Regions from separate parts of the Homo sapiens genome. Here all the other regions are linked to region 1. The links are contacts of gene promoters, found by promoter capture Hi-C in blood cells and fetal thymus (Javierre and others, 2016). All regions are on one chromosome and are shown on one strand. The core of a region is centred on a gene start or on the middle of the fragment in contact, and the rest is flanking DNA. Distances in the headings are between cores, read along the strand shown.

The links. Contacts are between HindIII fragments. The CHiCAGO score rates a contact against its expected background, and 5 or more counts as called.
Region 2: a contact is called between a fragment that was not itself captured here and the fragment with the promoter of GRSF1 in region 1, in 2 of 17 cell types (fetal thymus and erythroblasts). The highest score is 6.8, in fetal thymus.
Region 3: a fragment that was not itself captured here is called in contact with the fragment with the promoter of GRSF1 in region 1 in 7 of 17 cell types (total B cells, monocytes, activated CD4 T cells and 4 more); the score reaches 9.1 in total B cells.

What each region holds. Positions count from the first base shown.
Region 1 is chr4:70,837,373-70,841,969 of GRCh38, reverse strand. It overlaps GRSF1 (G-rich RNA sequence binding factor 1), which reads left to right and starts at 2,080. Exons shown (of 10, transcript NM_002092.4): 1 at 2,080-2,499. The coding sequence starts at 2,143. It overlaps LOC124900710 (a long non-coding RNA gene), which reads right to left and starts at 2,978. Exons shown (of 3, transcript XR_007058131.1): 1 at 2,825-2,978. RefSeq lists silencers at 1,813-2,062, 2,123-2,672 and enhancers at 2,069-2,722, 2,723-3,377. The HindIII fragment of the contact is 9,073 bases long and covers 1-3,537 here.
Region 2 is chr4:70,625,868-70,630,464 of GRCh38, reverse strand. ENAM (enamelin) reads right to left here and starts at 1,721. Exons shown (of 9, transcript NM_031889.3): 1 at 1,501-1,721; 2 at 911-1,024. The coding sequence starts at 964. The HindIII fragment of the contact is 706 bases long and covers 1,743-2,448 here.
Region 3 is chr4:70,643,581-70,648,177 of GRCh38, reverse strand. It overlaps ENAM (enamelin), which reads right to left. Exons shown (of 9, transcript NM_031889.3): 9 at 1,354-4,597. The coding sequence ends at 3,323. Among named protein-coding and RNA genes, the nearest start is that of ENAM, 17 kb to the right of the region's middle. The HindIII fragment of the contact is 5,025 bases long and covers 585-4,597 here.

The sequences.
Region 1 (4,597 bases), core at 831-3,330:
TTTTCTTTTGTCATTTTAACACTGAGGCATCCCAGCCTCCCTTCCTGGAAGATGGAGTATTTGCACTGTTGCCTTTTCTTTTGTCCCTGTTTTTGTATAAAAATGACAATACTCTCCGTCGGACTGTATTTTAGCCCAAAAAACAAAACTAAACCCCTTTTTCTTTGATACTCCAGGTTCATAGAGCCAAGCCTATCAATTTTTTTCTTGTTCTTTGTTTTTTGGTTGGGGAAAGGGTTTTCTAAGAAATACTGAATTTTCCTTACCTAAAAGTAGTCCAGGTTAAACAAGTCAAACTTTAAATGTAATACCCATTGCTTTAAAATATTCTAGCAAAGAAAATAAGGTCTGGAAGATGGTGGTAGGGGATAGATGAAACAAGACTGAAAAGTGTTGACAATTTATGAAGTTCTGGAAATTCATTCTGCTCTTCTGTTTGACATTTTCCACAGTAAGGAGTTTTTAAAAATACTAGCTTTCTCTTATTTTTTACTCTAACAACTTCCTTTTGCTTGTCTTTGACAAGTCCTGGCTCAGGAGGAGAAAAGCTGCACAACCAGTCTTTGTGTATGTGTGTGCAAATCTCTGTGTGTTCACTTGTGAATACAGTTTCATTAGGGGAGGGTTCACCTTTGTTATGTATTATCAGTACATAATAAATATATATGTTTTCTTTTATTTTTTTAGAGACAGGGTTTCACTCTGTCACCCAGGCTGGAGTTCAGTGGTGGCAATCATAGCTTACCACAGCCTCTACCTTCTGGGCTGAAGCAATCGGCCTCCCAAGTAGCTGGGACTACAGGCCCACGCCATCACACCCAGCTTTATTTATTTTTTGTATAGACGGGGTCTCCCTATGTTGCCCAGGCTGGTCTGGAACTCTTGGGCTCCAGTGATCCTCTCACTTCAGCCTCCCAAAGCGCTGGGATTATAGGCATGAGCCACCACGCCAGGCCTATATTTCATTTTAAAACAACGAAGTTCTCCTTCCTCACATACCTCAAATTCGGGGGGTACCAAATCTCTGATATTATCCCAACGATTTTTTTATAACCAAGGTATCACAATTCCTTTCAGAAAGGGTTCTTTAGCCACTCACACCACGGGTTTCGGTGGCACAGCGCAGGGCAGCACAGACTTGTGCTACAGCTCTCGGCCCTACCCAGAGCAGGATGGCCCTAACCTAATTTTTTTGTTTGTTTGTTTGGAGATGGCGTCTCACTCTGTCGCCCAGGCTGCAGTGCGGTGGCACGATCTTGGCTCACTGCAACCTCCGCCTCCTGGGTTCAAGCGATTCTCCTGCCTCAGCCTCCTGAGTAGCTGGGATTACGGGCACCCGTCACCACACCCGGCTAATTTTTGTGTTTTTAGTAGAGACACAGTTTCACCATGTTGGCCAGGCTGGTCTTGAACTGCTGACCTCAGGTGATCCGCCCTACCTCGGCCTACTAAAGTGCTGGGATTACAGGCGGGAGCCACCGCGTCCGACCTAATTTTTTGTATTTTAGTAGAGACGGGATTTCACCGTGTTGCCTAGGTTGGTCTCGAACTCCTGACCTCAGGCAGTCCACCCGCCTCTGCCTGCCAAAGTGCTAGGATTACAAGAATGAGTCACTACGAATGAGTCACTGCGCCAGGCCCCTAGCCTCACTTACTTTGGGCCTCAGTTTCCACCGCCTGAAAAAAGAGCAGTTCGATTGCACCCACTTCCCCGGGCCCCGCCCAAACCATGGGCAGCCCCGCCCAAACCATGGGCAGCCCCGCCCAAACCATGGGCAGCCCCGCCCAAACCATGGGCAGCCCCGCCCAAACCATGGGCAGCCCCGCCCAAACCATGGGCAGCCCCGCCCAAACCATGGGCAGCCCCGCCCAAACCATGGGCAGCCCCGCCCAAACCATGGGCAGCCCCGCCCAAACCATGGGCAGCCCCGCCCAAACCATGGGCAGCCCCGCCCAAGGGCGGAGACTGGGCGGAGCGTCGCGCTCTCCTCCACCTCCTTCCGACTCTCGGAGGCCCCCCACCCAGTGCCCGCGGCGCATGTGCCAGGCACACCCCACCCCCAACCGGCCCTGGATTCCACTTCCGTTCCACCATCGCTGCTGGAGCAGCTGCCTTCAGGCCCTGCGCCGCCTCCGGAGTCCATGGCCGGCACGCGCTGGGTACTCGGGGCGCTGCTCCGGGGCTGCGGCTGTAACTGCAGCAGCTGCCGGCGCACCGGCGCCGCCTGCCTGCCCTTCTACTCCGCCGCTGGCTCTATCCCGTCGGGCGTCTCGGGCCGCCGCCGCCTGCTGCTGCTGCTCGGGGCCGCCGCGGCCGCTGCCTCCCAGACGCGTGGCCTCCAGACCGGGCCTGTGCCTCCCGGGAGGCTGGCGGGGCCTCCCGCTGTGGCCACCTCTGCCGCGGCCGCGGCCGCCGCGTCCTACTCTGCCCTCCGTGCCTCTCTGCTGCCGCAGTCGCTGGCGGCGGCGGCCGCCGTCCCGACGCGCAGCTACAGCCAGGTACGTGGGCGCCGTGAGGGACCTGGCGCGAGATCCCTCCCGGGCCGCGTGCACGCGCCCCCGCGCCCCTCCGTCCCTCCGTGTGCGCCTCGCGGGCACGCCCGGGGATCCGCGACACTCGCCGCACACCCGCCCCCGTCCACCCTGTGCTCCTATTGGGCCCTGGAACAAGGGAAGCTCTCCCAGGCGTCGGGTCTTCTGCTTGTTTTGTTCTCGCCTCGAGTCTCTGGTCGGTTGGGCAGTGTAAGTGTGGCTGGGGTGAATGTTGAGGCCTTGTTCCCCGCCTGGCCCATGGTAGGTTTCGTGAGGCTGCTGACGCCCCCACCTCGCATCTTCTTGCTTTCCGCCGGCTGGTTGTGAAGTTGCGAGGCCCGAGCCCGCCGGAGGGTTGGGAGTTTCCGTGCAGCCCGAGCGCTAGGCCTGGGCGGCCCTCGGCGCCTCTCGGTCGGCCGCTGCTGGGAAGGTGCGCGCACACAGTTGCGTGGGCTGGCTTGTAGGGAAGGAGCCTGTCCCCATCGCGCCGTTCCCTCTCCTGTCCCCAGGGAAAGACGAGCTGTCCCGGTTTACTGAAGGTCACCTCTGCAACTCCACTCATACAGAAGGTCTTTAAGGACTGTGTGTCGCCTCGTCTGGGAAAGCAGTTTGGAGATTTAGCTGTTGGGGGGAGGGGGTGAATGGGAGGGAGCGTTGAGGGTTGAGGACACAACTTGGGGTCCCAGGAATGAATTTGCAATGTTTTCCTTTCCATTTTTTCTTTATTTTTTTAGAAAAGTCGGTGTGTAGTTAGATTGCAAATATTTTGTGCTTTGTAGATGAACCTTTCTCTTCTTGGTACGTGGCATCTGGGAAGTGTCTGCACACTTTTTAACTACCCAGCCCCTGATTCCTTAGGTCATATTTATCTTAATTCAATTTGTGCTTCTCCTTTAACTTAGGGAGACTGGGAGGCTAATCAGCATGGCTGCTGTCTGCCAGTGGCTGAGCTAATTGATTTGAATCCTGGCCCAATACTTTACGCTGCCTTTTTCTGTAAAAGCTTGTGATGCTTATGGAATTATGGAAAAATGGGGAAAGTTGTCTACAAAAACCACAACAAAACCATCTCCAGTAAACCTTTGTGAGCTAGCTTCTCTCTTTTTTTTTCTATGAAATTGACTGCGGTGATATCTGTAGAGCATCTACTATGTGTTAGACACTGCTTACATTTATTCCTTAAAACTAAACATTAAGCCTTTTTTTTTTTTTTTTTTTGGAGACCGAGTCTCGCTCTGTCGCCCAGGCTGGAGTGCAGTGGAATGATCTCGGCTCACTGCAAGCTCCGCCTTCCGGGTTCACGCCATTCTCCTGCTTCAGCCTCCCGAGTAGCTGGGACTACAGGCGCCCGCCACTGCGCCCAGCTAATTTTTTGTATTTTTAGTAGAGACGGGGTTTCACCGTGGTCTCGATCTCCTGACCTCGTGATCCGCCCGCCTCTGCCTCCCAAAGTGCTGGGATTACAGGCGTGAGCCACCGCGCCCGGCCTAACATTAAGCCTTAATGAAAATTATAGATAGGGCTGGGCGCGGCACTTTGGGAGGCTGCGGCGGGTGGATCACCTGAGGTCAGGAGTTCGATAGCAGGCTAACCAACATGGTGAAACTCCGTGTCTACTAAAAAAATGCAAAAAAATTAGCCGGGCGGGGTGGCGGGCGCCTGTAATCCCAGCTACCCGGGAGGCTGAGGCAGGAGAATCCTTTGAACCCGGGGAGGTTGCAGTGAGCCGAGATTGTGCCATTATACTCTAGTCTGGGCGACAAGAGCGAAACTCCGTCTCAAGAAAAAAGAAAAGAAAAGAAAATGACAGATAGTAGAAAGATATCTCTGTCCTTAGTCCGGTAGAGTGCAAGTCTTTTTTTTTTTTTTTTTTTGAGACGGAGTCTTGCTCTGTTGCCCATGCTGGAGTGAAATGCCGAGATCTCAGCTCACTGAAACCTCTACCTCCCGGGTTCAGGCGATTATCCTGCCTCAGCCTCCCGAGTAGCTGGGATTACGGGCACACGCCACCACACCCGGCTCATTTTTTGTATTTTTAGTAGAGATGGGGTTTTGCCATGTTGGC
Region 2 (4,597 bases), core at 846-3,345, 210 kb after region 1:
AAATAAAAGGTTTTAATCAGAATGATTCATTTTCATCGTATATCAGATATAGTCCATTTCCTAGCAGAGTAACCAACATGTAGACACTCAGTTGTTTTCATTCCTTTCATTCTTTCTTCCTTTTCTGGACATAAAATCTATCTAGCATAATTGGAGCCAATGCTCACCCTTCTGTTTACTTCCTATAGGAGCAACATAAATGACGCTTTAGCATTTTTATAATGGACATTTTCCTAAATTGTGGGTGTAATCAGTTATCTTTCATACATTAGAAAAATTGGCAGAATGTAATTAAACAAAGGAAGCAGTAGTATGTAAATACCTTTCCTACTATTTAAAGATTTTCAGAGTTAGAACATCATAGAGAATGAAAATAACAGCTGAATGTTATTTTAGAGTGTTTAGTATAGGTTACAACAATATGTGGAAACTAATAAAGAGAATACTGGTGAAAGCTTTCTTTGCTAAATGTTTCTAAGATTATGGCCCAAGATTTAAGGGTGCTTTTGGATGGTTAATTTCTGCCTTGCTTAATCATTCATCTCATCTCTCTAGTAGCTGTCACAGTGATTCTTGATAATATATGTAGCCTTTATATTTGCAAATAGAAAACTCATTTTCTCTTTTGTAAAATTAATATATTATGTTGGATGACTGAGATCCCTTCCATCTCTAAAAGTTAGTGATTAAAGTCTATAATTAGTTATTTTTTGAGTTGAAAGTAACACTCATAATGATTGCCACAAAGTACAATGACTGTGTAAGTTCTTCTTCCATTCCATCTGTGAAAGCAGATGCTCTTTGAGTCTTCTGATACATTTCAGTAGTGTTTGGCCCTCTCAAGTGTATTTCTGACAGTATCTAGTTTGAGAACCTGTATGTATTGGCAAAAATAAATGAAAGTACTCACCAAGTTATCTAGTTTAGGAAAAGAGGTTCCAAGCCTGCACCGAAGCACCAACATTTTTTTCAGCAAAATTTTTATAAGCCTTTAAGAAAAATACAGCTTTAACCTGAGAAGAAACTAAAATATAGAAATGGAACAAATAAATGAAATGAATAGCAAAGCTTCAGTTCTAAGGCAGCACATGTCATGTTAATTATTTTATCCAGTCATACCTGTATTAGGGGGCCACAAAATCAAGTTTAATCTTCTGTTGCTTTAAAAGTAGGATGAAAGCTAAATCAGAGAGGAAATGACACAGGCACTGTATTTTGAGATACTTCTAGGGCGATGTTGACAAAACTAGACTTCACTATGGGGAAATGTACAAAGTCACAGTAGTAAAGGAGGTCTAAGAAGGCTGGAAAAAACTTACAAGAAAAACAAATACACCAAATAAACCAAGGAGTTTAAAGTTTTATCAGAAGATTAGTCTGCATACAATGATTATACAACCAACAAGAAGGAATGCAATAAGGAGAATTAACCAACATCTATGAATTAAATTCATTATTTGACACTATATGTAATTTATGTTGATAATCTCTAATACTCACCCAATGCCAATTAGAAGCTGTAATATATAAAAAATAATTTTTACTTGAACTTTGTTAGCTTGCCTTTGAAATATATTCTTAATGGTCTATAGTGGAAATAACTACAAATTGCTGAAGCCAGGGAGATCTCAAGAAGCAAGATACATTTATTTCTTAATAATAAAACAAAAATTCTTCACTCAGATATCATGTTCAGTATCAAAAAGGCTCAAAATAAAAAGATTCCTCCTTGTCAGAAAGCTTGGCACAGCAAGGTTCCATTTAAGCACTGTTGTAGACCTGCATAACCAATCAGCTTTGAGGAAAATGGTTTTGTCATCACAAGAGTTTAAGGTAAAAAACACACATCGAATTTAAAATTTAGAATGTGTTATTATAGGAGCTGTCAAGTCAAGTCTCTTATTACGTATAATAACAGTCCAGGAAAATGAGCTTACAGCAGTAAGATTTAGAAGATGCTTCCCTTGGTGAATTTGGCTTTCAAAGTATAGAAACTATGTTTATAACAAAGATATTTCAGGAACAAAGGCGAATATTAACTGTATGCTATTGTCATAAGTCAGTTGCCTTCATCAAAAGGCAGGCTAATATATATATTTACTTAATATACATTTTATATGTAATTAAAATGAACTGGAATGTTATATCCATGGGTGAAAACTCAGTGACTTGATTTACTTTGTATTACATAAGGCTAGCAGGACATAGTGTTCTTTTTGAAGTCAAATATAATCCAGTCACTGGGGATTCAGAATTTTAGATGAGTTGGGTACAATGGCAAATGAACTCTCAGCTATTATGATAATACAACTTAATGAAAATAGGACCTGAGTAATTTAATGAAACAGTTATGTTATGGATTTTTTTCCTGAAATCTGACTTTCCATAATAAAGATTTCACTTTCAAATAGATAGGCCAATTGCACTTTTAATTGACAAGAGCAAGCTTTGCTATCTTTGCTTAACTTGGATTCTCCTGTTCTCTTATGGCTTCACAAGAGAAAACATTTGTTGTGGCAATGTTTGCTTATTTTAATGTTGGGATTTAAAAACCAAGAATGAATGAACTTGATGGCAAAACCTGTTCCTACTTGGTATGATTGTGTATATAAGTTAATCCAGTGGTTGCCCATGGTGCTGTTCTTCCAAGGACAGAGAAGTGCTGTGTCATTCCTTTTGGGCCAAATAGCATTGTATTTCTCAGTGCCTCTCTGCTCCACATATTTCGTGCCACAAATAATAAAAATGTGCTAGAATATTTGACTTTAAATGAAGCTAGGACTATCTTTTAACTCTATGTGTATCCAAGATGTGCAAAGTTAAATCTGCTTCAAGTACCTGCTTGCCTTTGTCTGATTTTGTAGAAACTGAGTAGTATTTATCATATTGTGTGCACATTGAGATGAATTTGCAAATGGTAGGACACTTACGGGACAGTGACCTACAGTGTGTTCTTGGAAGTGAAATGGGAGTTCTGATGCTGGATGACCTGGCCTATCCTGTGCCCATTCATGTAGAGGGTAATTTTTGATTTTGGCCTTACCCATATAGGTTGTTGGGAGTTGCCACTAAACCTCACTTTTGATCACTTTCCTCTATTTACCCTTGTTCTCTTGGCCACAAGGGTGGTTAGTTGTCATGAAATAATTCATGTTTCTAAAATCCAGCCAAGCTATTGAATGAGTGAATTCTTAGTACTGTTGGATTGGATTGGGAGAATTACCAAATTTCCTTTCATTTAAAGGAAAAAAAAAAGCTCAAACTTTATAATTTTTTTTTTTTTTTGAGACAGAGTCTGGCTCTGTCACCCAGGCTGGGGTGCAGTGGCGCGATCTTGGCTCACTGAAACCTCTGTCTCCTGGGTTCAAGTGATTCTCCTGCCTCAGCCTCTAATGTAGCTGGGATTACAGGCATGAGCCACTGTGTCCAGCCTATAAAATGTTTTGAAATCAGTCCTTTATGAGTTTTTCCCCCTTTACTTTATCTCTATTTATTTTGTAAATTATTTTTCCCTTCAGGCAATTACAACTGTTTGTGAAACATGTTTATGATTTGGCTTAAATTTTTTTTTTTAATGTATCTCTTTGATTTTTTTCTCTACATTACCCTTCTCAGTCTTAAAATAAGATGTGTTAACCTGGGAGCTGAAACCTAAGAAATTGCATATAAGAATTTGTGCATTTGTGTGTAAATGTACCATTTTTTTCTCCCCCTGAAAAAGAACCCATATTCTCCAGGGGGCCTGTGAACTTCTTCCTTTGCCTCCACTCTTTAAGGTCCCCTCATTGCTCTAGATTTTAAGCCAGCAGGAGCAGAAAAGTCTTTTGATTTCATACTCTAGATGTAAGGGAAAGAGGCTGGGTTTTGAAATTGCCAGATCTAAGTTTAAACCTTCCACAAATTATCCAGCTGTTCAATTTCCTGTTCAGTAAAATGAGGGCAATATTACCTTCCTCATAAGTTTCCTCTAAGAAATGAATGAAGTAATAAATATAGCTTGGGCCACAAAGTGGGACTCCATCTCTACAAAAAAATATATTAACCAGCCACAGTGGTGTGTGCCTGTAGTCCCAGCTACTCGGGAGGCTGAGATGGGAGGACAAGAGGGCTCCTCAAGGAGCCCAGGAGGTCAAGGTTGCAGTGAGCTATGATCGCACCGCTGCCCTCCAGCCTGGGTGAGGCAGAGAGAGACCCTGTCTCAAAAAAAAAAAGTGAAATGCCTGGCTCCTAGTAGCCGACTATCAGTGACTGACTGATCAATACACAAAGGTACTTCATTGTTCCACATTACACCTTATAATGATTTACTAAGGATTTAAGAACAATAAATTCAGCCATAGTTCTCATAGTTCTCAGAGCAAATAGATCCTCCAAGTACAACTATGAAGGTAAAGTTCTGTGGATTAGTATTAACAGAACACTCCAACACTGCAGGATCACTGAATGAAGCGCCTGAGACAAAGTAGTGTCTTAGGGATCCATTACTGGTGCCAAATAGTGTCTAAGCATCCACAACCTTGAATTCTTTCTGAAACCATTCATTCCTATAGCCTGTTCTCAGGCTGTAAATGCGAGAGATCTTTCTATCAGAAGAGAA
Region 3 (4,597 bases), core at 1,848-4,347, 190 kb after region 1:
AGATACGTCTGAGTAATGTTAATAATACAAATAACTCAAAGGTCATTACTTCTGCGTTTTCTTTAAAGGTGTATAAAGTTAAGATGCTGATGTGAGTGACCGAAGTGAAACATGTTATCTACATGTTTAGGTGCTCCAAAAAGTCAGAGAAGACTCTCCATGCTAATGGCTACTAGGCTGTTTACGGAGGTCTGGCTTGGCTCTACATTTTGTCATCTTACTTTGCTTCCTGTGTCAGGTGAGGAAATGCAAGATTTCCCCCAGGCACCTGGATTAATGCCCAACCATCCTCTAGAGAAGTTTACTGTAGGCTGTGCATATAAAGCAGATGAGTGTCAACCTTGCTGGATTATCTCTTGTGTTTATAATCCTCACATTTTTTTCTTCTTCTTTACCTTATCAACTAAAGACATCATAGACTATATCCAGCTAGTTTAGAATCAGCAGATGACCACTAGATGTAGGAACTCATCACAGAAGTGTAGTAGTAGCGGTAGGGTTCAGATGCTAAGACAAGAGGGTTACTTTTAGAGCCTCCGATATCCACCGCGTGCACCTTAACTTTAGAGCAGACTTTAAAAGCTTTATCAATAACTTAGCAAGAGCATACAGAATAATTGATTTCTTTACTGTAAGGAACTCATATCTGGTATCCAGGTTTGCAAATGCATACCTGTGCTGATGACATCAAGAGTTTTCTGGGCCGGCCACAGTGCTCACGCCTATAATCCCAGCACTTTGGGAGGCGGAGGTGGATGGATCACTTGAGGTCAGGAGTTCGAGACCAGCCTGACCAACATGGTGAAACCCTGTCTCTATTAAAAATGCAAGAATTAGCCATGCCTGGTGGCACACATTTGTAATCTCAGCTGCTTGGGAGGCTGAGGCACGAGAATTGTTTCAACTTGGGAGGTGGAGGTTGCAGTGAGCTGAGATGGTGCCACTGCACTCCAGTGTGGGCAATAGGGCAAGACTCTGTCTCAAAACAAAAACCAAAAAAAAAAAAAAAAAAAAAAGAAAACAGTTATTTTCTGGAGAGACATTTTCCCTTCTTTTCACTGTGTGTTTTCAAATTCAAAATATGTGTTCCTTTGGTCACACTATACATTTTTAGAAAAAATATTTACTTATGCTCAAGACAGTTTGGAAGTGTCACACTGTACTTTTTACATTTTACATTGCAGCGATCTCAGATGGTAGTTTAAGTAGCAGTGTCTTATAAATTCAGATATGTCAACATATCTGCCAAAACAATTATGTGAACCCATGCATTTTGGTGAAATGTGAAGTGAGTATCTTGTAATGAAAGTACTCATATTGAGATTTCAAAAAAAATCATTTGGAAAAATAAACTAGTGAAACAATAACATTTTTATTTTGAAAGGATAATTCTTAAAAGACAGTTTTATACAGAATAAGTTAATGAATTTTTCAATGTGTGATTAAAATATAAAACTGGCCAGGGGGAGGGGAATGTAAGCAGTAGGGGATGGCCTGGATAATCTACCTCTAAGATCCCTTCTAACGCTGAAATTCTATGATGGAAATGTTGCTGAATATATAAAGCTACGGAGTGGTGGCTCATTCAGCATCCTAGACAGTCACCTTTCAGGAAAAGCAGACTACGGTGTTTTCATGGGAGTGTTGAAAGTCATTAAAAAATGAATTGATATATATTTATTGGGTACCTTCTATGTTGAAGACACTGTGCTAGGTACTTCAGAAGATTCAAGGGCAAGATTCCTTTTCTTAGGAAGTTTTCAACGTTGTGTTTCCCCAAATTTTTGAGATGTTGTTATGAAATCTGCCCCTGAAGATGTATCCTAAGAAATCTCTTAAAGTTATAAAGTATGTTTTTAGGTAATTCTGAGACTTTTTTCCTGCTCTAGGCAAGGGACATCCAGATAATAGGCCAACATGTTATTAATAAGAATAATAATCCCTGATGTATTATAAGCAAGGCATATAGAAATATCCACTTTTCAAAATAATTTACACAATTTATTCAAGATACCAAGAAAGAGTGTCTGTAAGTAATTCTGCATGGACATGAAGAATGTTAGTAGTAGCACATACTGGTAGAATCCCTTATGCTGAACTAGTAAAAAAAAAAAAAAACAACTAAACATTGAGTTTTTATTTAAGACAGTGTTTCCCAAAATGTCTTCTACAGATCCTGCGGATTATGAATTGGCAGTGTGTGGCAAGTCCTAGTCTTTTTTCCTGGATGTGCAGTCTCAGAGCGGCAGTTTCTTCAGTTCCTCATTCTCCATCTTCCTAAGCCTTTTCCCTAGGCTGCTAGTTCTGGGTATCCTGCCTTCCCTTCTCCTTAAATACGTCTCTCTAACTGAACTGTGTCTACTTGGTAGAGACCCTAAGATAACTAAAAACAAAGTAGCTATCAGTGTCTACCATTTCCAAAATATATTCTGTAATGATGGTTAAGCTGGGTCAAGAAAAATTTAGGGTACGATTTGGAGAGTGGATACAAAAAGGAAGAGAGTGACATGCAGTCTTAAGATGAAAATGGTGTAACAGGGAAAAAGATAAATTGAAGGGAAGAAAGGAATCAGAGAGGAGAGGGATTAGTTGATAAGTGGTACATTGGGAGACAGAACAGATAGGTTGGAAGAGACGAAGACATAATGGAGGAGGTAGACATAAAGAAGAGACTAGAAATGGTTAAAATAGCTAATTTAATATGTAAGAAGTGATATACAGAGAGAAAAAGATGAGGATTAGAAAGCTAAATACAGAATGGTTGAGGGAGAGAGAAAAGAAGGAAGAAAGCTAAGAAAAAGAAATGATAAAGGTAAAGAGAGTGGCAGTGGAAGAAAAAAAATGCTTGAAGAGAATATTGAGTAGGAAAAAAACCTGACAAGATCAACACAAGCAAAAAACGTACAGTGCATCAGGACTATACTGATGTGTGGATCTCCATAAGTAGAATGGAAAGTTAATCTGCCTTTCAGTCTTGAAAAACCAATTTTGCAAGTATGGAACTTTGAGAGCAAAAGAAGTCATCAAGCAAAAGGAAACTAACTCAGACAAGTGACTTGCAAGTTTCGAGGCAGGGATGGTCATGGCCTTCTTGCTTTTTTAAGGTCTGCACTAATCTGTGAAAGTGCTAGATCTGGTGATCCCCAGAGGCCTAATCTCAGCTCCACCTGGGTCGCTACTCCTATTGCTGAGAGGGGAGAAAACTTAAGGATCACCAAGACAGTCAGACACTTAATTAAGTCTTGGGGAAAAAATTTTGGGAACCATTGGTATAGAATGTCAGTGATTTCTCTTTCCCCAAGAATGCTTGGTTGGATAACCCCTAGGCCTGAAGTAGTAAGCAGTCTTGTACCTGGTCCTGTACATTGGTCCCTCTTTGAAGGAATTCAAATGGACTGTGTTCATCTGCATCAAGTGGGTCTACATTTATACTCTTAAATTGTTCCTCAGTAGCTAACTCAACCAATGTGTTAGGATTTTCAGTAGGCGTAATTGAATCCCCATCAAATGGGCTTTGCCTTCCATCGCTAGATGGAGTTCCGGTGGTGGAAGAGTGATGCTTTGCTAATTTGGAGCCAAAGCATGGCAAATGCAGAATGTTAGATGGTCTTTGCTGTTGCCTCTCACTCTCATTTTCTTGGACTTGACTTTGGATGCCTTCTGGATTGGAGCCTTCATCAGGTGTACCAATAACAAGCTGCTCAGGAGTAAGGTCAACAGTTCTTTCATTGAGCTGGTTGTCTTCAAAAACTTGTTCCAGAATGTTGTTCCCATCTCCTCCAAGATCATTTTTGAGACAAGGTGTATTCTTTGATTGAAGGGAACTGGCTTCAGGAAAGGGCATAATTTCCTTTTGGCCCAGTTGATTCTTTATAGAACATGGTGTGTTCCTCCTCAGCGTGGACACATCATCTCTAAAAGGGTTTTGGCTTTCCCTCTTCTCTGAGCTGTTTCTTTGGCCTGGTAGGATGCTTGTTGGGGAGATGATATCTCTTGTCTGCTTGGTATGACTACCGTCTGTATACAGAGGACTGGTGTCTTGGTTCTCCCCAGGTGCAAGACCATAGGATGGAGTGTAGTCTTGTAGAGCTAGTGGATTGTCCTTGGGCCCTGTGGAGCTACCAGCACAGCAAGAGCCTCTCTGGCTTAGGTGAAATAAATGTGCTTCTTTTTGACCTGATGGGTAACTTGGTGGGATGAAGTTAGGGAAAGATGAATGTTCTCTCTCTGGAGAATTCATCCTAGTTATTTGCATGCCATAGTTCAAATTCTCACCTTCATGCCATATTGGATTTTTCTGAAGCCCAGCTGGGGTGTTACTGTAATAGGGCTGGTTACCTTTCTGGTCTGGTGGCCTAGCTGGGGCTTTTTGTAAATGTGTTGCCTGATCCCAGATATTTCTGTTAAAATACGGCCTTCTTTCTCTCTGCCCTTGGGCTTGTATCCTGTGGTCCCAGGAATTCCGTGAAGGAAATAGAGTGCTTTCTTCTGGTCCAGCGGCATTATTAACGTAGTAGCCCCTGCTCTCTATAGGTGGTGGCATAGTAGAAGCTGTATTATATGATGGAAAATTCTCATCCGGGCTCCATGGGTAAAA